Linked DNA regions of Homo sapiens: regions 1, 3, 4, 5, 6 and 7 are each linked to region 2. Evidence: promoter capture Hi-C in 16 types of primary human blood cells and fetal thymus (Javierre and others, 2016). All regions are on one chromosome and are shown on one strand. The core of a region is centred on a gene start or on the middle of the fragment in contact, and the rest is flanking DNA. Distances in the headings are between cores, read along the strand shown.

Evidence for each region. The method cuts DNA at HindIII sites, captures the fragments that hold promoters and counts their contacts. A CHiCAGO score of 5 or more calls a contact.
Region 1: a contact is called between a fragment that was not itself captured here and the fragment with the promoter of TOPBP1 in region 2, in 4 of 17 cell types (fetal thymus, M2 macrophages, M1 macrophages and 1 more). The highest score is 8.6, in fetal thymus.
Region 3: a fragment that was not itself captured here is called in contact with the fragment with the promoter of TOPBP1 in region 2 in 4 of 17 cell types (monocytes, naive CD4 T cells, M1 macrophages and 1 more); the score reaches 7.6 in monocytes.
Region 4: a contact is called between the fragment with the promoter of ACKR4 here and the fragment with the promoter of TOPBP1 in region 2, in 7 of 17 cell types (M1 macrophages, M2 macrophages, M0 macrophages and 4 more). The highest score is 11.0, in M1 macrophages.
Region 5: a fragment that was not itself captured here is called in contact with the fragment with the promoter of TOPBP1 in region 2 in 4 of 17 cell types (M2 macrophages, monocytes, neutrophils and 1 more); the score reaches 9.5 in M2 macrophages.
Region 6: a fragment that was not itself captured here is called in contact with the fragment with the promoter of TOPBP1 in region 2 in 6 of 17 cell types (monocytes, M2 macrophages, neutrophils and 3 more); the score reaches 11.6 in monocytes.
Region 7: a contact is called between a fragment that was not itself captured here and the fragment with the promoter of TOPBP1 in region 2, in 1 of 17 cell types (monocytes). The highest score is 6.1, in monocytes.

The regions. Positions count from the first base shown.
Region 1 is chr3:132,531,640-132,535,171 of GRCh38, forward strand. The region is part of intron 55 of DNAJC13 (DnaJ heat shock protein family (Hsp40) member C13); the gene reads left to right. Among named protein-coding and RNA genes, the nearest start is that of ACKR4, 64 kb to the right of the region's middle. The HindIII fragment of the contact is 236 bases long and covers 2,076-2,311 here.
Region 2 is chr3:133,659,936-133,663,266 of GRCh38, forward strand. TOPBP1 (DNA topoisomerase II binding protein 1) reads right to left here and starts at 2,006. Exons shown (of 28, transcript NM_007027.4): 1 at 1,834-2,006; 2 at 1,109-1,199. The coding sequence starts at 1,192. It overlaps LOC124909487, which reads left to right and starts at 1,291. Exons shown (of 3, transcript XM_047449438.1): 1 at 1,291-1,411; 2 at 1,578-2,098; 3 at 2,964-3,331. The coding sequence starts at 1,291. The coding sequence ends at 3,113. It also overlaps a transcript of TF not described here. RefSeq lists a silencer at 1,793-1,962 and an enhancer at 2,363-2,432. The HindIII fragment of the contact is 9,162 bases long and covers 1-2,132 here.
Region 3 is chr3:132,456,692-132,459,840 of GRCh38, forward strand. DNAJC13 (DnaJ heat shock protein family (Hsp40) member C13) reads left to right here. Exons shown (of 56, transcript NM_015268.4): 12 at 1-141; 13 at 578-677. Among named protein-coding and RNA genes, the nearest start is that of DNAJC13, 41 kb to the left of the region's middle. The HindIII fragment of the contact is 429 bases long and covers 1,606-2,034 here.
Region 4 is chr3:132,595,064-132,598,649 of GRCh38, forward strand. ACKR4 (atypical chemokine receptor 4) reads left to right here and starts at 2,207. Exons shown (of 2, transcript NM_016557.4): 1 at 2,207-2,260. The region is part of intron 13 of ACAD11 (acyl-CoA dehydrogenase family member 11); the gene reads right to left. All of the region lies in intron 39 of NPHP3-ACAD11 (NPHP3-ACAD11 readthrough (NMD candidate)), which reads right to left. The HindIII fragment of the contact is 3,278 bases long and covers 1-3,213 here.
Region 5 is chr3:132,509,111-132,512,349 of GRCh38, forward strand. It overlaps DNAJC13 (DnaJ heat shock protein family (Hsp40) member C13), which reads left to right. Exons shown (of 56, transcript NM_015268.4): 44 at 1,957-2,134. Among named protein-coding and RNA genes, the nearest start is that of ACKR4, 87 kb to the right of the region's middle. The HindIII fragment of the contact is 4,957 bases long and covers 1-3,239 here.
Region 6 is chr3:132,488,574-132,491,939 of GRCh38, forward strand. It overlaps DNAJC13 (DnaJ heat shock protein family (Hsp40) member C13), which reads left to right. Exons shown (of 56, transcript NM_015268.4): 31 at 403-448; 32 at 2,324-2,478. Among named protein-coding and RNA genes, the nearest start is that of DNAJC13, 73 kb to the left of the region's middle. The HindIII fragment of the contact is 4,727 bases long and covers 1-3,366 here.
Region 7 is chr3:132,428,048-132,431,466 of GRCh38, forward strand. The region is part of intron 1 of DNAJC13 (DnaJ heat shock protein family (Hsp40) member C13); the gene reads left to right. Among named protein-coding and RNA genes, the nearest start is that of DNAJC13, 12 kb to the left of the region's middle. The HindIII fragment of the contact is 1,949 bases long and covers 1,001-2,949 here.

The sequences.
Region 1 (3,532 bases), core at 944-3,443, 1.1 Mb before region 2:
ACAAAAAATTAGCCAGGCGTGGTGGCGGGCACCTGTAGTCCCATCTACTCGGGAGGCTGAGGCAGGAGAATGGTGGGAACCCGGGAGGCAGAGCATGCAGTGAGCCAAGATTGCGCCACTGCACTCCAGCCTGGGCGACAGAGCAAGACTCTGCCTCAAAAAAAAAAAAAAGATATTCTCCTAAGTTTCCAGTGATTTGTTTATGGTTTTGCTAAATATTTAGGGTGTGTCGTTTTATGGGGGTGGAATACATAGGTATCATGAATGAAAGGATGTTTTACTGCTTTGGTTTCAAAAGATACTATGTTTAAAACTCAGAACATTTGACACACTAATTGCATAATTTTAGAATAGTCATTTTCATATAGGCTTCAACATAAGTCAGACTCTTGCTGAATGCTAAAGAGGCAATATCTAGTCTGCTATAAAAGTTCTTAATTTGAAATTAACCTTAGGAATATGAGGCGGTTCTTGCTGTCTGCCTGAAATTGTAGTATATAAAAAGATGTCAGCCCTGCATTCTCTCCTAACCAAAGATGATAAACTAAGAGAAAAAATTATCACCCAGGGTTTCTAAGCCATTGTAATTGTTTTAATCTTGATTGCTAGTATAGAAGTTTATAAGATCATGAAGACTTTATCTTGAATATTCAAAATTAGAGGCTTTGGAGGAAATTTTACCTGGTTTTAATTTTAAACTTGGTGTGACACTTTTTTTTCTTCACCATAACCACTTTAATATTGACACTCCTAAAGTTGGAGCAGAGTCCTAAAATTTATAAACATGCAGTGCTTTGGCTGCAGGTCATGTCCTGTTCAGAACAGTGTCATAGGTTTTTATTTTAACTTTTCCATCCCCTGTCCCTCATATCTATGGAGAAAAATACCTAGACTGTGTTCTCAGTCTGTCCCATATCTCTCTTCAGATTTGGTGTTAAAATTATAGCTTCTAAGTAGGAGTTTGTTCTTATAGGCAGTATAAAAACTTTACCTCTTTAGCCTATGTCCAAAAGTTCACATACCACGTTTTCATGGCATTACATTCATTACTTTTTGTATAAGGATGGTATGATTGAAAAAAAAATCTGCCTTATTTTTATTTTATTATTTATTTTTTTGAGACAGTCTTGCTCTCTCACCCAGGCTGGAGTGCAGTGGTGCGACCTCAGCTCACTGCAACCTCTGCTCCCTGGATTCAAGTGATTCTCCTGCCTCAGCTTCCCAAGTAGCTGGCATTATAGGCTTGCACCACCACACCCAGCTAATTTTTGTAATTATTATTATTATTATTATTATTTTAGTAGAGACGGAATTTTGCCATGTTAGCTATGCTGGTCTCAAACTCCTGACCTCAGGTGATCCACCCACCTCGGCCTCCCAAAGTGCTGGGATTACAGGCGTGAGACACCACACCTGGCTTTTTTTTTTTTTTTTGCGACGGAGTCTGGCTCTGTCACCCAGGCTGGAGTGCAATGGTGCAATCTTGGCTCACTGCAACCTCTGCCTCCCAGGTTCAAGCCATTCTCCTGCCTCAGCTTCCCAAGTACTTGGGATGATAGGCATGTACCACCATGCCCAGCTAATTTTTGTATTTTTAGTAGAGGCTGGTCTCAAACTCCTGACTTCAGGTGATCTGCCCACTTCGGCTTCCCAAAGCATTGGGATTACAGGCGTGAGCCAGCATGCCCGCCCTCTTTTTTTTTTTTTTTTTTTTGAGACAGAGTCTTGGTCTGTTGCCCAGGCTGGAGTACTACAGCATGAGCTCAGCTCACCGCAACCTTTGCCTCCCGGGTTCAAACGATTCTCCTGCCTTAGCCTCACAAGTAGCTGAGATTACAGGTGTGCACCACCATTCCCAGCTAATTTTTGTATTTTTAGTAGAGACGGGGTTTTGCTGTGTTGGCCAGGCTGGTCTCGGACTCCTGACCTCAAATGATCCACCCGCCTCAAATGATCCACCCGCCTGGTACTCCCAAAGTCCTGGGATTACAGGTGTGAGCCACTGCACCTGGTCAGCCTTATTTTTCTTAACTAAGAGTAAATTGGCCCTGAAGAATAGTAATGTGTATATTATAAGCTTCTCTACAGGAAAGCCTCTTCTAATTCTTCTGTTCAGTCTTATCTATCATTCTTTGACTTAACTTGATGAAATAAAAAACATATGTCCTTGACTTACAGAGTGTGAACCAAAAGGTCTGTGGTTAGAATCCAGAAGAAATAGGGGTTTATCTTCAGAAACCTGGACTTCATTTGGTCCTCACCCCCATCCACATGCTTTAGTAACTATAGGGAAAAGGTATAGGCAGTAAAAAGCTTCTTGTCTGTGCCTTTCCTTTTACTTGGATCCATGCGGTGGCTTCTGAATGAGATATGAAAAGTGGCTGTGAAGGGGTTAGAAGAAGGTTAGGGAAAAAGAAAAGTTGGGGTATACAAATTTCTTCCCATCCCTGAGCCGGCTTAAGGGACAGCAAGTTCTGTACAGGTCTGGCCAAATGGGGAGATGGTATAAAACCCAACCAGGAAGGGGCATGGAGATAATGAGTCTTCCAGAAGGCCATTACTGAAGCCTGCAGACGTGTCCATGTAGAACAGTCTGGATAAGCTGTAAGCATTGTTGACCCCAGAATTGTGAAATTCTGAGCATGTTATCAATCTGGGATGCTCTTTTTTAGCGATGTCAGTTGCTGGAAATTTTTTCATCAGCTCTAGTCTGTCCTATTTGAAAGGACCAACTTGCCAGGTGCAATGGCTCATGTCTGTAATCCCAGCAATTTTGGAGGCCAAGGTGGGCGGACTGCTTGAGTCCAGGAGTTCCAGACCAGCGTGGGCAACACGGCAAGACCCCGTCTCTATAAAAAAATACAAAAATTTAGCCAGGCATGTTGGTGCATGCCTGTAGTCCCACCTACTCGGGAGGCTCTCTTGAGCCTAGGAGGTGGAGGTCACAGGTGAGCTGAGCTCTCACCACCACACTCCAGCCTGGGCAATAGAGCAAGACCTTGTCTCAAAAAAAATTAAGTTACATTAAAAATGAAAGAACTATTTCAAGAATTAAAGCTTCTAACTCTTGCTGTCTGCCTGAAATTGTAGTATATAAGATGTCAGCCCTACATCCTCTAACTACAGATGATGTAGGCAAATTAAGAGATAAATTAGGTAAATTTACTGCCAGTTGGATTGATGTGTGCTCATTGCTTGAGTTGCCAAATGTTTTTTGTGTTTGAGCTTTTCATTGATGTATTGTGTATCATGTGTTTGATAAAAGGGGCATGTAGTTCTAATAATGATAAAATCCCATGATGTGGAACTCCAGGAATTTATAGTGTTGTGTTGAATTGGAATTTCATTTAGTTAAAATGTGCCCCGTGCTACTCCCAAACTTCAGAAGATACAGATTGTACCCAGCCCCTCTGTAATCATTGAAATCAAGGTTGCTGTGACAACACACATCACCAACCCTTTCTTCTAACTGATATCTTTAGGTGAGTTTGGCAGGTTAGGTGGATTTTGTTTAGGACATGGGGAAAGACAA
Region 2 (3,331 bases), core at 756-3,255:
CTGATTATCAACCCTCCAATGGCTCTCCACTGAGAGAAAAATGGCCCACAAGGCCCTACATGACCTCTTTACCATTATTCTCTAACGCATTCCTTAGTACTCTTCCCCCATCCCTCACTCACTACACAACAGTACACTAAACTTGGATAGAGACTACAGGCACTTTCCCAGGGGCTGTATAAGGTTGCTCTCTCTGCCTGCAACATTCTTCTCCAGATATCTGCAAGGCTATCTCACCTCCTTCACGTTTACTCAATATCTTTTTCTTCATAAAGCCTACCCTGATCACACCCTATTTAAGATTATAACCCCCTTCTCTTCCCACCCCAAGAAACATCCTCTGGAACCCCTTAACGTGTTTTGCTTTTTTCTCTTCCTAATTTATCATGTCTGATTAGTGTCTATGTCCTCCTGCTAGAATGTAAGCTCTGAAAGAACAGAAATCTTTGCCTGTTCTCATCACTGATAAATCCCAAGTACTAGAGAAGTGCCTATCAAATCATGAACACTTCAATAAATACTTGCTGAATGAATGAAGTTTAAAAAAATCTGCTACAAATGCTTCTCAAACTTTAATGCACACTGAAGATCTTGTTAGAAATGCAGATTCTAAGTCTGGGTTGGAGGCCAAGATTCTGCATTTCGAAGAAACTTCCAGGCCATGCTGATACTGCTGGGTTCTGTGAGAAGCAAGGATCTACATCACCCCTACTATCATCCAATTATTATACTGTACATAATAAAACATAATTTTTAACAATTAACCAAAAAATTTTCAAGTATGACCAGTACACAACTGACTCAAATTTCTACAGCACGCAAAGGACCACTCTGGCTAGGAGACAAATGAAAGCAACTTAATTTCCAAGAACTGTAGGTCAGCCATATTAAACAGCAATGTGATAATAGACTTCCAGCCCCCCGAAATACATAATGATGTACTTAGATCAATTCAAAAATATGTGATAATGATATATCTGTATTAATGTAGACTATAAAATTATTATGAAAGTGAAATATCTACTTCTAAGACATAAAGCCCAACAAATCAAAAACACTTAAAAACAAGAAAATGAATTCACGGTATTAAGATGTTTTCAACTCTTACCTCGAGAGCTTTAAAAAAACATTTGGAATTGTCTGAAGACTTTAAAAACTTCACAAAAAACGGTTCTTTGTCATTTCTGGACATTTCTGAACTGTCAAAATAAAGGAACCATTAACAAGAACAAAACCACATTAGATAAAAAGTTGCATGTTTAACCTACCTATTTTTCTGTGCAGACAAGAATGCCTAAAGACAGACATTCTGGCTCTGCCCGTGAATTCGTCAACGGCATTTCTAAGAAATCCTGGAACTTGGACAAAGCCAAGGTAAAAGATGACAACACCAATCCTTGCAAATCAGACAGCAAAATTAACCCGAATTGAATACACTGAGGAAGGCCCTGCTATGAAGGCTCTAAGCCCTTTAGGCCAATGGACATTCAATTGCACTTGTTTTAAGGATACACAGAGTGTATCTGTCCCTGCGGATACCCACGGCCTGCGAGGTACGTTCATCCCTCAGTAAACAGATTTTAAATATAAACATGGAAGCCAGTTAGCATGGTCTTGGCCCTGCATAAGGCTAGATGCTCCGGTTCCCATCTCCAGGAAAAGGCCTGGCTCTGGGATCACGGAAGCCACGTCCTCTCGGCGTCAAAGGCCCACCCGCCGGCTCCAGGGCCAGTTACCAGGACAGGAAAAGAGGGTCCTGAAGGCCACAGAAGGCATCGCGAACCCCAGTTGGGGCTGGGGAGGAGCTGTGTCCCCACTCCGCGCCTCACTTACCTCGTTGGAGCCTCGGGGTCTCCGGGCGGCGAGTCGGGGGACGCGCTGGCCGCAGGGCGGTGGCTGGGGTCGGGCGCCAGCCCGGCGCACAGCCCCCTCCCCCGACTCGGCGCCGCCCCTACCCCAAAGCAAACGCTGGAGAACCCGGAAATTGCCCAGAACGGGAACCGACTTTCGCGCCAACCGCGCGGCCGCGCTTGCCTTTTCCGGTGGAAGTGACGCCATCGGCAGCTGCAGCAGAAGAGCGGAAATGTCAAACGTGGAGGTGAGCAGTCTGTGGGCGGTGGGGCTTCAGGGAAAGCTTGGGCCGGACCCTTTGGGTTTAGGGCTTTGCTGGGCGGGCCTAGTCTCCGCTGCGAGTAGGCCCAGCGCCGTCGGTTCAAGAGGTAGGACCACAGGCCAGGAATACTCCTTTACTGTTAAAAAAGCCAGGGAAAGAAAGGATTTCCTCAATAGATATTTATTTTACACCTGTCTTATACCAGGCATGCACGGGAAAAGGTATTATCCAAAACAATTCCGTGAGGCAAATAGTGGTAGTTCCATTTTGTAGATGTAAAAACGGAGGAAGTTAAATGATGGGTTCAAGGGCACACGGCTAGTAGGTGGTAGAATTAATACTGCATCCAGGTCTTCTGACTACGGACTGGGTGGTTTCCCTCCAACACAGCAGGAATAGAATCACCGCCTAACACAGCCACAAGATGGCAAGGGAAGAAAGGATGACTTATTACACAGCTAATGCAAAGGGATCTTTGTCAAGATCTTCAATGGTCTCCCCTCCTCCTCCCCTTCAGTGGACATCGCCGTTCTCTTTCTCTGCATCTGCCTCAGTACTGGGGAGATTCTGGGACTGAACCTAAGATTCAGATGGCAGAGAGCAAAGGGAGAGGGGATAAGATGGGCCTGCAAACCTTAGTGATAACCAGCGGAAAACTGATTCGTTGTTGCTTCTTTTCATTTTATTCTTTTTTAAAAAAATTTTTTCTTATTTTATAAAATCTAGCCACTATACTAATGAGGATCATTTTATTATTCACTGCTGAGATTGAGAAAATGACTTTGGATTTACTAATGTAAAAGTATAATGCCATGTCCCTTGATTGTTTTTGTTTTTCTTTTCTTTTTAGAGCCTAAAGATAGTAATGAGCAGCTTGAGTCTTAAGTTTTTGAATACACCGATGGAAGGTGACAAAGATTCTTTGCTTGGCCAAACTTTAGTCAGACTCCTCAACCTTCTCGTAGGTTTATCTGTGCATTTCCTTGGAAAATCCAGTTAGAACCCTCTACCCTCAATATCTGATCAGGTTCCTCATCCTCTACCATCCAAGGTGATGTCTGATCACCTTGACCTATTTTCAGCAAGAAACCCCTTTACTCCTGAAGTTCCTTCTTAGTAATTTTTTATCCAGTGACCCCAAGCTTTTTGTTCCTTGGCTATAAATTCCCACTTGCCCATGGTGTATTTAGAGTTGAGCCCACTCTCTCTCTCCTAATT
Region 3 (3,149 bases), core at 570-3,069, 1.2 Mb before region 2:
GATCAATAATGCCATAACAGCATTACTGTCCCAAGAAGGGGATGTCGTTGCTTCAAATGCGGAACTTGAGAGTCAGTTCCAGGCTGTGAGGAGGCTTGTGGCATCCAAAGCTGGTTTCCTGGCTTTCACTCAGCTTCCAAAGTAAGTTGTCTTCTGAAACTTAACTTCTCTTAGAGAATTTGAACTACTCAAAATGGCAAATAATGAACGATTCACCTCCTTTTCCTTGACTAAACCAGATACCTTTTATAGGGTGATATGGTACTTTATTCATGAGAAATGAAAAAGGAAGGTGAGGGCAGCAGAAGCGGAATATTGGTCCCATACTCACCAGTAATATAACTGACTCTTGAATTTGAATGGGAAATTACATGCCTTTTAGTTTTAGTTAACCCTAAAAAATATTTTCCCTCTCAAAGAAAAAACTATTATGAAGACTGATAAATTTCAGAGGTGGAATTTAAAATACGTCATTGTTCCAGTAGTGCAATGGAAAGTTAATATGATCTATTTCAATAATATAACAATTTAAAATGTTCTGGTATTGCTAGTATATGCTTGTTTTTTGTTCCAAAAGGTTTCGCGAGCGTCTAGGGGTGAAGGTAGTAAAAGCACTCAAAAGAAGCAACAACGGAATAATCCATGCAGCAGTTGATATGCTTTGTGCCCTTATGTGTGTAAGTAGTAGTTTTCTTAAGGAAACTGGTTTTTCTTAAGTTGACTGGTGGTTTTGATTTCCACAGTCCCAGATTTTCATTGTACCAATAAGTTCTTGTTTCTGTTTCATAAATTGTTCTCATAGTTACTCAAACCTTTGTTTAGCATATCCTAAATACCAGGCAATGTGCTGTGTGCCAGAAATTCAAAGATCTTAAGACAGAAGTTCTTTTCTTCCTCACTTTGTTGACAGTCTGGTAAGGTAGGCATATCTGTACAAGGTAAGGTAGTAGGGGCCATAGGATCTTGAAAAGCAGCACTTTATTTTTGTTTGGTGATGAGGGGAAGATGAAAGATTCTCACCCAGTCTTTCTGGAAGATGTTACATTTGATCTGAATCTTGAAGGACAGGCAGGAATTTTCTAGCTCTGGAAAGGCCTTCCTGGGTGGGGAATAGCATATAAAAAGGCATGTTTGGAAAGCAACAAATAATTAAATATGGTTGGGTTATAAGGTATGGATGGGGGGTAATTAGGAGTTGCAGCTAGAGATGTATGCAGACAGTAATAAAAAACCTTCTGTATCAGGAGGGAGGAGCTAGATTTTTATCTTTTTGTAAGGAACACCTGAAGGATTTTTTTTAGCAAGAGAGCAGTAATGTGATCAGGTTTGAGTTTTTAAAAACCCACACTGGTAGTATGTGGAGAATAGAAGTAAAATTAGAGGCAGGTAGACCAAATTGTCACGTAAGAAATGAGTTGCTGAGCTAGGGTAGTCACAGGGCTAAAGAAGCAGCACACCTGAAAGCTGTTTGCGCAGTAAAGATCTAACTTAGTGGCAGCTTGTACAGAGGGAGAAACAATTGTTTAGTACAGTTTTGAAGTTTCTGATTATCTCAGTTTTGTGTGTAGTACCTGGGACTTTTCCTTATATAAAGTGTTTTAGGCAAGCTTAGTCGTACATAAACATAAGTAAATACTTCTGTAAAACCTTGCATTCCCAAAAGCAAATTAATTTTATTTACTGTTCCAAACAAGTAGTGAGATAACTAGAACTTAACAATGATATGGAGAGTTGCTTTATTCGAACAAAAGATGTTCCTATTACCCAGGAAATTCTAATGGTAGAGAGCTTTGTGTCAGGCTCCCCTATCAGGAAATTGCAAAGTTCTTAGGAGCTCTGTGTCAGGAACCAGGGTAAAAGACTGTTGCAACAAAAGATTCTGCTAGTGCCCCTGTCTGCAAGGGTTTTAGGTGCTCTATGTCAGGAGCCAAGGATGGAGACCAATGTATATATTTTTTAATATTTCATGTATTCTCCCTGCTCAGAATTCTTTCCCTGCTTATTCATTAAGAGCTCAAGTCAGCTTTTAAATGAAGCTTACCAAATATACACACCTACTATGTACCCACAACAATTAAAATAAAATTTTAAAAATAAATGGAGCTTTCTTATTCCTGAAGGTGGTAGTGATGTATCCCTCCCTGAAGTGAGATTACCCTTCATAAATATTACACTTGTCTTTCTTAGCAATTTCTTCTTTGAATTATTGCTATTTCTAAACATGATGTATTTTTCTCAATCTGTCAGCTTCCTGAGGATAATATTCATGTTTAATTTTAATTTTTATCCTTAACAGGCCTTGTCAAGCTGTTTAATAAATAATGATTAATTTTTTTCTGTGTTTCAGGTACTATTCTATGAATTTTTCATATATTATTCAGTCTTCCAATGAACTTTAGAAGTTATTACTGTTATATCTATTTTGTAGAGAAGGACTTAAGGCCCAAGTAACTTGTTCAAGGTCATGTAGCTAGTAAATGGCAGAGGAGGCTTCAAGCCCACTTTCTGGCTCCAAAGTTTATACAATTAACCATAGTAACATACAGTATTTGCTAAATGAGCAGAAACAAAAAGGAAGGAAATTCTGACACGTTTTGCAACATGGATGAACCTTGAGAACATGATGCTAGTGAAAGAAGTCAGTCACAAAAGGATAAATATTGTATGATTTTAATTATATGAGGTCAAATTCACAGAAAGTAGAATGGTGGTTGCCAGGGGCTTGGGAGGAAGGCAGAATGGGGAATTATTGTTTAATGATTACAGAGTTTCAGTTTGGGAAAATGAAAAAAGTTCTAGCGATGGGTGGTGGTGATGGTTGCCCAACAATGTGAATGCTTAATGCCACTGAACAGTGTAATTTAAAATGGTTAAGATGGTAACTTTTGTTATATGTAGTTTACCACAATAAAAAAAAGTAAGAAACAATGCTATGAAACAAACATTGAGCCCTCATTACATATTAGGTGTTGGCTTTGTATCTTACATGAATTATCTCATCTAAGCATCATAGTAATGTTACATAAATACTATTACTCCTACTTTACAGCTGAGGAAAATGAAACTTAGAGACTTATGTAAAGTAACTTACCTTGCGTAACGTCTCCCAGTTATTGTCAGTAGTAAAATTAGGATTGGAGCTCTACTCC
Region 4 (3,586 bases), core at 957-3,456, 1.1 Mb before region 2:
TTAGAACATGTTAAGTGCTATGGGTCTGGTGGACTGGGAGTCCAGATGGATGAGGGTTATTTTAAGTAGAGTAGTGAAGAATTGCCTCAGTGAGCTGGTGGTGATTGGGCAAAGACTTGAAAGAGAAGAGGAAGTGAGCTTTGCAATTACTAAGACAGAGCACATTCCAGCAGACAGAAGAGCCAGCACAAAAGCCCTGATAGGATTGTGACTGGTATGCTCTCAAACAGCAAGAAGCTGGGTATGGCAGAACAAGTAGGCAAAGGGGTGAGTAGTGTGAAATGAGGTCAGAGAGACAATGAGGGATGGAGGCAGACCTTGTGGGATCTTGTAGACTACTATGAGAGTTCATGATGAAGCAATTGCAATAGAAGCAAAAATTGACAAATGGGACCTAATTAAACTGAAGAGCTTCTGCACAGCAAAAGAAACTATCAACAGAGTAAAGAGACAACTTACAGAATGGGAGAAAATCTTTGCAAACTATGCATCTGACAAAGGTCTAATATCCAGCATCTATAAGAAATTTAAATTTACAATTAAAAACAACCCTATTAAAAAGTGGGCAAAGGATGTGAACAGACAGTTCTCAAAAGAAGACATACATACCGCCAACAATCATATGAAAAAAAGCTAAACATCACTGATCATTAGAGAAATGCAAATCAAAATCACAATGAGATACCATCTCACACCAGTCAAAATGGCTATTATTAAAAACTCAAAAAATTACAGCTGCTGGTGAGGTTGTGAAGAAAAAGGAGCACTTACAAACTGTTGGTGGGAGTGTAGAAAACAGTGTGGCAATTCCTCAAAGACCTAAAGACAGAAATATCATTCGAGCCAACAATTCCATTACTGGGTATATACCCAAAGGAATATAAATTATTCTATTATAAAGACACATGCATGCATATGTCCATTGCAGCACTATGCACAATAGCAAAGACATGGAATCAACCTAAATATTTGCCCATCAATGATAGACTGGACAAAGAAAATGTGGTACATATACAGCATGGAATACTATGTAGCCATAAAAAAGAATGAGATCATGTTCTTTGCAGGCACGTGGATGGAGCTGGAGACCATTATCCTTAGCAAACTAACAAAGGGACAGAAAGCTAAATACTGCATGTTCTCACTTATAAGTGGGAGCTAAGATGAGAACACATGGACACATGGAGGGAAACACACTGGGGCCTATCAAAGGGTAGAGGGTGGTAGAGAAAGAGGATCAGGAAAAATAACTAATGGGTACTAGGCTCAATACCTGGGTGATAAAATAATCTGCACAACAAACCCCCATGATACATGTTTACCTGTGTAACAAACTTGCATGTGTACCCCTGAACTTAAAAGTTTTTTTTTAAAAAAGAGAAAAATAGAAAAAATGGCATGGGTCTGAAATAATTTCTGCAGGTGGAGACTGAGCCTGGCCTTGCATGAAAAAATAGATAACTGCCATGCAAATTTGAGGAAAGCCAAGTTCAAATAGACCATGAGGGCCAAATCAGCATAAATTTCTCTTCTTTCTCTAACTTACTTGTGTGGAAATGTGGAAAAAATAAACAGCCTCCCAGACTGAAGGATTTTGAAGGTTCATATTCTAGCTTTGGGAAAAAAGGTAACAAGAAAGCAAGAGAGTTTAAAGCCATGGGAAAATACTCTGGGACAAGGATAGAGAAAGTACAGTGAAGCCAGGAAGACTCTAGTAGTTTAAATAAATATTAAATGATGTGGCATAAAAATGTTAAATTCTATTGCAAATACCTAATGATTACTTATAATTTAATCTTTGATAATTTAGTCTTCAAAAAGATATTTTCCTTGGTTAAAATCATATTTGCTTTCTTCCTTAGGCAAAATAACTTTAGAGAGTATTTCTCTAGATGCTACCTACAAGTGCTGCCTAGATGCCCTCAGGTGGATTCTCCTTCTGGTTCAGCAGTCAGTAGCTCAGCTGCAGGCACTTTCTTGTCCCCTTTGACTAAGTGGAAACTATGAAAGGTCTATAGTTTTTGAAAAAAGATGGATTTTCTCAAATTTGTAACCTAAACCACTTAAGAAGTTGAATTTAACTTCACAGATGGTTTTACAGGAAATAAAATATCAAGTGCTCACAAGGTTAAATTTCAGGAAAGCCTTCTTGGATACAAGATAAAGGCGGGGTGTAAAGTGAAAACAAAAGTAGCTGGAGTTAGGTCATTTGATTTTATACTCTGTACTCAAGACTGCTCCTCTCTGCCGACTACAACAGGTTGGTACTTTATTTCTTTTCTTATTCTGACTTGAATATTTTTTTAAGCCCAAAGATCTTGTATATTTACTTATATAGATGGAGTCTTGATGCATAAAAGTTTAAATGCTTACTTGTAAAAAAAAAAAAAAGGGTTACTTGAAAATAGCTGTACAGTTTAACCTTAAATGAAAATCTTAATATAGCAAGAAGAAAATACGATTTTAAATGCCATTACTTGTCGGTAAAACTTTGTTAAGGAGAAAATAGGTTTTATTATACCACTTTTTTTCACTTTCTTTTACAAGTACTGATTTTTTTTTTATTCTCATGGTAATTATAAAGACACTTAAAAGCGTGTCTATATATCTGCCGGAAGGATCATTTCTGCAAATAATTCCATTTCTACTCTTTTTTACTCACATTTTTAGTAAGATTAATTCTTACTTAAAAATTCCCTTCCTTAATATATTATAATATTTGGCCATATTATTTCTTATCATCAGGTTCAAGATTTTCTGATGAAAGAGAAAGGAAGAACAAGGTTCATACTGTGTTAATAATTAATGCATAAGAACATGAAGACCAGAGTAGTCTTCCAGATTGGAACTTTTTAAGTAACTTTAATGATAAAAAGAGTCATTTAAAAAAGTTGGCACCCGGTTTTTACATAATGAAAGCAATTCTTCTATGTGGTGTCTTTCTTCAGAGCCTTCTTTTCTTTGCTATATTCATTCAAAAAAAGTTAGCAAACATAAGAACATTTCTTTTGAAAATGTACTATAAGTTGGCACACTGTTTTAAAAATAATATTTTCATTATTGATTCTATAAGAATATTTGAGATACTTCAGAGGACAAAAAGAACCCAAGGAAAATAGAAAGGATAAGAAAAAGGAAAACAAAATTCAGCACTATAATAAAAACACTGAAAGTCATTATTTTATACATTCCAAAACTTACGAATTCTGTGCAAGCTTATCTTAATACTACGGGGTGCTAGTAGCCAACATAGTGCAATAACAATGTTGACATAGAAGATTTCTGGCATACTATCTATCCATTCTAGAGTAACAGCTTTATACCTGTTGGCAAAAGCTTTAATTTGACAAATATTTACTGAGAAGCTACTTTGTGCCAGGCACATTAACAAGATTTTATTTACAAACACAAATCAAATAGGTCATGCTTTGAGGAACTTAAAACCTAGAGGAACAAGGTAGTATGGGAAACGCATCCTTTCCACAGAATGGATCAGTTCTCTGAGGGGTATGTAGAGATTGCTAATACATCAGGAAAGTCTTCTGGGGAGGTCGCATCCGCGTTTATTGAGTAGGAATTGGCCCTT
Region 5 (3,239 bases), core at 551-3,050, 1.2 Mb before region 2:
TTCCTCTAATGGATGTGGGCAAAGCAAATTGAAAACCTTCTGGAAAGGATTCACCTTTCTAGATGCGTAAGAGCATTTGTGATTCATGGGAGGAGGTAAAAATATCAGTATTAACAGGAGCTTGGAAGAAATTGTTTCCAGCTCTCATGGATGACTTTGAGAAGTTCAAGATTCCAGTGGAGGAAGTCACTGCAGATGAGCTGGAACTAGCAAGAGAGCTAGAATTAGAAGTAGATCCTGAATATGTGACTCAATTGCTGCAATCTCATTATAAAACTTGAAGAGAAAAAGGGGTTGCTTCTTGTGGATAAGCAAAGAAAGTGGTTCTTGAGATGAAATCTTGTGAAGATGCTGTGAACATTGTTAAAATGACAAAAGATTTAGTATATTACATAAACTGAGTTGATAAAGCAGCAGCAGGGTTTGGGAAGATTGACTTCAATTTTGAAAGAAATTCTCCTGTGGATAAAATGTTGTCAAACAGATCACATGCTACAAAGAAATCTTTCATGAAAGGAAGAGTCAGCTGATAGAGCAGACTTCTTTGTTTTACTTTGGGAAGCCACCCCAACCTTCAGCAACCACCACCCTGATTAGTCAGCAGCTGTCAACATCAAGGTGACATTCCCACCAGCAAAAAGATTGACTTGCTGAAGGCTCAGATGATTGTTAGCATTTTTCAGTTAAGGTATGCACGTAGTTTTTTTTAGACATGATACTATTGTACACTTAATAGACCACAGTATAATGTAAAAATAACTTTTATATGCACTGGGAAACCAAAAAATTAGCTTTATTTTGGTGATCCAGAACTGAACCCACACTATCTCTGAGGTGTGCCTTTACACCGAAATAATACCAAATGCTTGTGATGGGGTGACCACTGACAGCTTGTGAGCCTCTTTATCTTGATTGTTGAAGAATTGAATTTTGTGAAGTTTATTCATAAGAAGTTGTTCCTTGCCCAGCTTTTTCTTATATTTTGTGCCTACTGCTATCCCACTGGGCCATGTTTATATGCCTTTAACTCACTAGTCCTTCATGGACGTACAAGGCCAGTTACATGCTCATTTCATCACAAGGGATATCAGACCACCAGACACAAGGCTTCCTCTGGCCAATATTAGGAGAAAATATAGGTTGAAAATAAAGATTTTTTTAGAAGATGACTGGAGTCACATCAGATCATCTTTTGTGATGATTCCTCATCACTTCCAGAAGCAGCTGAGGAGCTTCTTCTGAGTGCTTGGGGATCATATAGGGAGTTTTTGCTTTCATTTTTTGTTTTTTCTATTTAAAGACGGGTCTCACTGTCTTGCCCAGGCTGGTCTCAAACTCCTGGCCTCAAGCAGTCCTCCTGTCTCAGCCTCCCAAGTAACTGGGATTACAGGTTCAAGCCACTGCCCCTGGCTTGTAGGAGGTGGCAAAGAGGATTTGGTGGTTGATTTGTTTGTAAAAAGGAAAGAAGTGAGGCTTTGTTTTAGAGTTTACTCTTAGAGGAAAAATGTACTATGCCATAATGTATATCACGTATCACAGAGTAATATATATGTAAATAGCTATTAAGCAGAATGAGTTAAGTGACTTGTGACGTCCCTTTGAAAATTGTCCTTTGAATTTCTAAATTTTATATAACTTAATTATAAAAATATAACCAAATTTTAGAAGTTCTGTATCATACTATCTGTTACTTCGATTGATAAAGGGAGGAGGTATTCTAATCTCAGAATTGTTACACTAAGATACTAATGGGAGTATATCAGATCTCTGGAAGTTGAGAAATACTTTATAATGTTTCCTGCCCTCTACATCCCCCCTATAGTGCATAGGTGTATTCATGTGTATGTATAATTTAATCATGTTTTATTCACTTTCATAGCTTAAAGTTCTTTCTTTTGCTATGGAGTTATTTCTTAGGGCACCCATGTTGTTTAAATACTTGTCTGCATTGATTAGGTTCCAAAAGCATTTGCTGCAAGTCTCTTGGATTATATAGGCTCGCAGGCCCAATACTTGCACACATTCATGGCCATCACACACGCGGCAAAAGTGGAGTCAGAGCAACATGGAGATCGCTTACCGAGAGTAGAAATGGCTTTGGAGGCTCTGAGAAATGTCATAAAATACAATCCAGGTATGTGACTACACCTTTGATCAATAAGACTCGTATAATACAGGAGCCCTAAAAATTCCAATAATCAATTTTATCAGGGAAACTCAGGGAAAATTATACTTGGTTATAATGTATTAATATAACATTACAGGGAATTGACCCTGTAATAGTTTTACAATAAAAGTTAAGCTGGGGAGAGAGGTCAAGGCACTATGTTTAGAAAAATTCATGTCTTTATGAGAACATGTGTCTAAATGAGTTGAAAAGGCAGAATAGTTTGATAGTATAAAATTTCACATTGATGTCTTAAGTTAACATATCAAGTATAAGTGCTTGAATTAGATTTATTTAATAATAAGTGATCTAATTTTTGCCTCCTTTCTGGTCCCTAACCAGTGCCATGTGCATATGGGCACTGATGTTTTTCAAAAATTGCCTGAAGTTTTTGGTGTATAAAAATTGAAATAAAGATATGAGAGTTCCTACTCTTAATCATCTTTAAGAGGACATTTCCAAAAACATTACTCTAGCCTGACTCCAGGGAGATGGATGAGTGAAAATGTAACAGCTTCTCTCAACTCTAACTTAGATAATAAATATAGAACATAAACCTAAAATGATACAAATTCAATTTAAATTACTCGATCTTTTAAAATAACATTGAACATTACCTTTCAAGTACATTTTTACTCTTCTTAGTATGTATTAAAGTACTGTTAAAATTCTGACTTTTGGGTTATTGCCAAAAAGTTATTTAAATAAAATAACAGTAATTAAATATTGGGAAAATTACGCATTTACAAGATGTACATTGGGATGTTATTAAAGACAGTGTTATAAAATCTGAAGAAAACTTGTCTTTTATTTGGAGTTGTCAAAGTGTCGAATATTACTAGTGGTATGTTAGGTACAAAGAAATTGTAGCAGAGCAGACTATTGATTTGGAACTTGTAAAGAGTTGAAGAAAGGCCTGTGCAGAAATCCTTCTGATAATATCCATCAAGTTTATTAGAATTAACTCTCTCGTAATTTAGAAGTATGGTTTGTGTGTCATTGATGTATTTGACAGTTATTCCCTATCAATAAGTGGTTTGAAAATGAATTTAAAAGCAACATATTTATAGAA
Region 6 (3,366 bases), core at 198-2,697, 1.2 Mb before region 2:
AAGTACATGTCTAAAGAGTTGGAAAGCAGAAGAATGGGGGAAAATTACTCAGAATTGTACCACTATTCCACATCTAGCATAAGAATGTATTATCTAGTATTTAAGTATGTATTTAATATAACTATATTCATATTGTACATGCAGTTTCACATTTTGCTTTCTTAAAGTTTAATAATTTTTTTATATTGTCACATAGCTTTAATATGACTACACTTTAAAAATCTTTCTAGTTCATTTAAGTTCTTGCCTTATTCAGAAATTAAATAATTTGGGAATATGGATTTATGTGAGTTGCCATTTGTGAGTTTTATTTAGCTATAAAAGATCTAGTCTTTAGAAAACTAAGGTTACAAAAACTAAATCGGTTTCTATATCTGATAGATAATTCATTTTTCTTTCTAGATTTTTGAAATACACACATACCAAACAGGCTTTCAAGTCAGAAGAGGTAAGCCAGGTTAATCCTCTGAATACTTAACCCTGGGTAAGCTGTTTTGGCACTATAAAGTTTCCTGAGCTGTGTATTATGTTTACTAGATTATAAGTACTTGAGGGTAGGTATTGTTTTATTCTGTTCTTACATTGTTTGTGGTACCTTGCACATATAAAGTCTAAGCTAATATTTTTAAAGGAAAATAAATGTTGCTGACTCATTAGACTTAATATTGAAATTGCAGCTATGAACTATAGCCTGACACCTCCATGAATATAAGTTGTTCTCTTTGTATAAAGTTTAGATTAGTGATTTTTGTAAATAATTCATTATGTACCTGAGTCTTACATCGTCAGCTAAGATTCAGGAAGACTTCAGCCTTTTTGTTCAGATCCCAAAGTGGCAGAAGTGCTAGGTTTCTTTTTTGAAGCTGCTCCATGTTTCATATGCTTTCATTTTACTGTGGGGTTAAGCTGGGAATTAAAAAAAAAAAAACTTATTTAGGTAGTTTTGACAATCTAAACTTAATGCCTACATTTTACAAAGAGATATTTATTGTTAAAATGAAACTGAAGGGTGTTTTGAAATATGTTCAGCTTTTCATGGAGCATGGATTTTTTTTTGGATCATATCAAGCAGAATAAGAAACCAAAACCAGACCACTGTTGAGAAGACTAACCAAGGAATGTTGCACCACCTTGACAATAGACACTAAATTATATGTTTTATAGAGCAGCCAATGAAGCCCTAGAAAGTAACCCATTTGTCTAATATTAAAGATGCCCATGGCAGCATAATTTCCACAGCTTTTTACAAATAGAAAATGAGAATATAAACAAGTTAAAAAAGTCTCTAATGATAGTACCTTCATGTAGTATTAGACATTTGGGCATTCTTTTTCTTCCTTTATTTCTGTGCCATTATGCATATTGTAATTTTTTCCAAATTTATTAGAAATGATTTGTATCATTTCAGCTAACAGTATTTTGAATAATTATAGCAAAACAGTGTTTATAGCACAAGTCTGGATGTATGAATTACCAAATAATAGTATTGAAGAATACAACTAGCAATTCTTTACCCAAAAGTTTAACAGATAGTGAATTTGTTACTCTTATTAGCAGAAAGCCTGAAAATATTCATCTTCTAATTTGTCTTTGCACCACATGATAAAACAATGTTTGGGTTTTTTCCCTCGTCTCTTTGTTTTATCCTAGAGAAGTAAAATGTCTTTAAATTTGCCTAGAAGGAAATAAGAAAAGCATTTATTTGTATAAATCCTAGCTAGCCCTTGGGATTTTATTTCCATTGAGTAAAGAAATGAGTTTAAAATTTAGTATGATCATTATCCTAACTCCATTTGGCCTGCCAGAGGATATGGACTTCGCAAAGCAGTTAATTATAATTACTTTAAGTAGAAATTCTCCATCTAAATCCTAGCTACATTTCATGAGGACAGGCTCTTAATGATCTTCTGAACTTATTTTTGAAAACAGAAGCAAGTACAGGTGGGACCTACAGCCAACAATATAATGCAGGATAATTGATGTAAATCTTCTTGGGATATTCCTTCTGTTATCCATTACTGTTACACATGGTCAAAGGCCAGTCGTCCTAAATAATATTGGCAGCTTGTGACACTTAAAGCTAAGACTGCTGCAGGGCCAGAGGCTGTTGGTTCTGCCTTAGAGCTCATGCCAAGCCAGTTTGTACCAGATACCTTCCAGTTCACATTTTGCTGTGTTTCCATCTACATTCCCAAAGCATAAAAGCAATTTGTTCCAATTGTGTTCTTTTCTTAAAGTGTTCTCTAACCATAAATCATTTATTAGAAAATTGAAAGTTAACTTTAGTGTTTTTGACTACCTTTTGTTTTGTTTTGTTTTGAAGACAAAAGGACAAGATATTTTTCAGAGAAGTATACTTGGGCACATTCTACCTGAAGCAATGGTTTGTTACTTAGAAAATTATGAACCTGAAAAGTTTTCTGAGATTTTTCTAGGAGAATTTGATACTCCAGAAGCAATCTGGAGCAGTGAAATGAGGTAAATAACCAGTTGACTGATTGATTTGTATTTTATAATTAAGTCTTTGCTGCTCGCCATCTGCTTTGACTTCTGTTAAAAGAAATGTTTTCACTAGGTTTATAATCTAAAATGACAGTAATCATTGATGCCAAATCAAATGATGGATTTTGATAAGGCCTTAAGGTTTTCTCTATTCTAATAAGATTTGACAAAATTGCTATTACCTTAATAGAGCTTTATATAATGGTAGGGCCTACCAACTGCTGGTACTTCTTAAATCAGTTTATAGAACTCGTAAGGTTTTAGGTAATGAACTGATAATATATATATAGGGAATTGGGGTAAAATCAAGACATACCTCTGGGTATCTGGAAGTAGGACTATACTCCCACTAATTAAAAGCTATGCCCACATAATTTGGATCGATGAATCAGAACAGAGATACCCGAAATTATTCTAGAATGTGGGCTCCCTTACCAACACCTTTTGTCCTTAATCTGGAGGTTAGCATTCCTAAGGTATGTCTTTGTTGGGGGGGAATGCCATAGGAGAAACCTGTGGAAACACAGAAAAAGGAAAGGCTCAGAAGCAGATAACAGTGCCCAGCCAGTTTCTGTTCAGAAAAGACTTGATACTTCATATTTCCAGTGTCAAGGCTATCTCTTTTTGGAGAACCCCTCAATTCCCTTAGCTAGATAGCATTAGATCTTCTATGTCAATTACTGACCCTCGTCAGACTGCACACACTCCATGCCACCTGCTTGTTATCATTTGACTTCTTGACCTATGGGCTTGGCATGTGTTAGCCAGCAATTTGAATATATTCTGTATGGCAGTCATATTTTTCATTGGGAAAAAATATATAAGAATATTAATAAATTAGCAACACAGTTCTTCTGTGTAATA
Region 7 (3,419 bases), core at 725-3,224, 1.2 Mb before region 2:
TCTGTGATCAGTGCCCTAGGGAGGTATTCCAGGGTCTTCCCAGATTGAATGATTCCTGACTACTGTACTTGGAGGACCTCTAGACTTGTCTTCACTCATTTGCCAATTATTATCTTGAAATTATTCTACCTCTCACTTTGAATGATACATAGTTGGTACATTTTCTGATCTTTGTGCATTGCCATTACCTTCATTAGCGAGTTACGTGCGTGTCTAAAAGTATCTTCGTGGTCTAAAAGAGTTAATGCAGTTTCCAGACCACTTGCCATTCATTGGCTGAAATGACTTTATCAAACAATAGTTAAGATTTTACTGAGAATGTAAAATAGATTTACCTGAAAATGTGGATAGGCTAATATTACACTGCCGGGAAATAGATCTCAGCCTCAGATCTCATTTATCTGGTTATCTTATCTTTTTTTCATCTAAAATTTATATTTAAATAGAGATGGGGGTCTTGCCATGTTGCCCAGGCTGGTCTCAAACTTCTGGACTCAAGTGATCCTCCCACAGTAGCCTCCCAAAGTGCTAGGATTACAGGCATGAGACATGGTGCCTAGCCAATCTGGTTATTTTAAAAGCTCGATGTTGGTTAGAGTAATTGAACTCTCTTTAAAGAGTATCCTGAGATCATATATTGGTAACAAATTTTTGTCATTGTATGTTTGTTTTGAACACTTTGTCAAGAAATGTCCTACCTCCCCCCAGACGGAGTCCTGCTCTGTCAGCCCGGATGGAGCGCAGTGGTGCCATCTCGGCTCACTGCAACCTCTGCCTCCTGGATTCAAACAATTCTCCTGCCTCAGCCTCCCAAGTAGCTGGGATTACAGGCATTCTCCACCACGCCTGGCTAATTTTTGTATTTTTAGTAGAGACGGGGTTTCACCATGTTAGCCAGGCTGGTCTCAAACTCCTGACTTTGTAATTTGTCCACCTCGGCCTCCCAAAGTGCCAGGATTACAGGCGTGAGCTACGGCGCCCAGCCAAAAAATGTTTTTTAAGCTTATATAAAGAAGGAAATATTTTGAAAGTTTATTTATAGATGATAGAATATTTCAGCTTTGGAGACTTATTTTTATTTCTTTTGTCCTATGTTGAATATGGTAATTTGTTTTACTGCTTAAAATTGTAGATTTCAAAGTTATTTCTAACAAGTATCATCTGTCCAGATGAAGATAATAACCGAAACTAGTTCTGAATTATTCCAGGAATTTGCAGTCAAATGATACATCTGTAATTACATGGTCAGGGTGAAGTTTTTTTTTTTCCTTAAAGTTGAGGGAAGGTATTAAAGTTTAGGTTAAGAACCTAGGGTGTAGAAGTTAAGGAGGTTAGTCCAAAGTCTGGCCCAATCGCTTACCAGCTGTGTTACCTTAGAAAAGTGATTTATCAGTTTTCTTGTCAATAAAATGAGAGTCATACCTGTACTGCAGTGTTGTTATGGGGACAAAATGAAATAAATGCATGGTAAATGCATAGGCTGAACACCAACATGTGATGAGTATTCAATATAAGTTGTTTAATAATTTCAGGACATGTCATAAATTTTCAGATTAGAGTCACCTTGCTTCCCTACCTTTATTAAAGGCAGTCTTCAATGGAGTTTTAAAATGGAAAAGCATTATCCTGATTTCCATTTTGAGGTTAGGCAGATGGTAATATAGCATTGAATTATTCCACTATTTCTGGGGTTGACTTGGCTAGTTAGTGGGGTGTCTCTTCCCTCCCTTACCTCTCAGATATACCCTTACATAAATATAATGTAGTTGAAGACAGGCTTTTCAAATAGAGGAGCAATTTTCTTCCATAAAAAGCCCATTTTACTAGCCTTTTATTGGATGCAGAGTAAAACATCACTTGTTGCTTTCTTAAATATTAGAGACAGAAAATTATCAGGTGTGCAAATATTGGACATAGGAACTTGTACTGATGATATGAACTTCTGGAGAACTGAAGTACTACTACTTTCCTCCTACACTAGTTTTCTGTCAGCATTCTCATCTGCATCAGGAATACAATATTTATTCTAATAGGCCAGGTCATTGGTAGTTTACTTTTATCTTAATGTGTTATATCTTCTCATACTCCTTTTATCTGTCCTAAGGACTCTCTGGAGTCTGGTGCTTTCATCATCTTCAGGTTTATAGACCTTCAAAAGCCTTCTTGATGTAAAGTTATTTAATTCATGTCCCAAAAGGTCTGTTGGAGTTCTATAACCCCAAATCAGTGGTACCTATGAGGTCATTCTTTAGGTGTTTATTTTTTAAATTATTTAAAAAATTTATTTAATAATTCTTATATTTCTTTTGTTATTATGAGATTATTTTGTTCTTATTCCCCCCTATGGGTTTATTAGGGATCTTTATTCCTTCTGGGTCATGCCCCGTGTTTTTTATGGTTGTCGTTTTAAAATCTTTATTTTTCTCTGCCTTTCATTTTAATTTTTAGATCCTTAATTTTATCAACCAGTCTCCACTCAACACATTTTCTTGTTTCTCAGTTTTCCCAAGATAGGCCCTTGGTACAGAGTCAGTTATTCCAATATCTTAAGTTTAGACTAGGAATACAAACCCCATTCTTCAGTATCAGCCATTCACCTTTTCTATCTGCCTTTCTCTTCCCATTGTTCCACTCTTCAGTTATATAGGGGAAAAATATCCGTACACCTATATATCTCTCTCTCTCCCTTTTTTGGTGAGTCTTCAGAGATACTGCCCAGGTTTCTTTTCAGCAATATCATTTACTGCAAAAGATTCAGAAGGCAGGGATAATTCTTACTGGGTTTAATAAATCTTAGTTGGGTGCTTTGGTCATCCCAGGTATGAAATCCAGAAACAGACAAACAAAACACCATACCAACTGTCAGGACTACATTTAGCTGTCCCTATACTCACTAGCAGGAAGATGTTAGTTGACTGTAAGAAATTTCTTCTTTCTGGTAACAATAAAAGCTTCTTTAAACTTGGTGTTACTTGTGGTTCCTTTTGTTATTTTTCAAAGCATGAATTGCTGATGCCTTTCCAGAAGGTTTGACAAAACCCTATTTGGGAGTCCCTGTTAGAGCATCAGGTTTGAAGTAGATATCAGAATTGCCCATGTATTTGCTGAATTTTATTCCTTAACTCAAATACTTATTTTTGAGCACCTGTTTTGTATCAGGCACTCTTGTGGCCTCTGTAGAAACAATAGTGAGCTGAACAGACAAAACTACCTCTCTCTGGATATTCCAGTAGAATTAGGTGAATAATAAATTGCACATTAGAATGTGGAAAGTGCTATGGGGGAAAAACAAGAGTAAGAGGGAATAGGGTAGAATGAGGAGGAGGGTGGTTACAATTTAAGTAGAATGAGGAGAGGGTGGTTACAATTTAAAACAAGATGTTTAGGGTCGGCATCATTGGAAAGGTGACATTTGAACA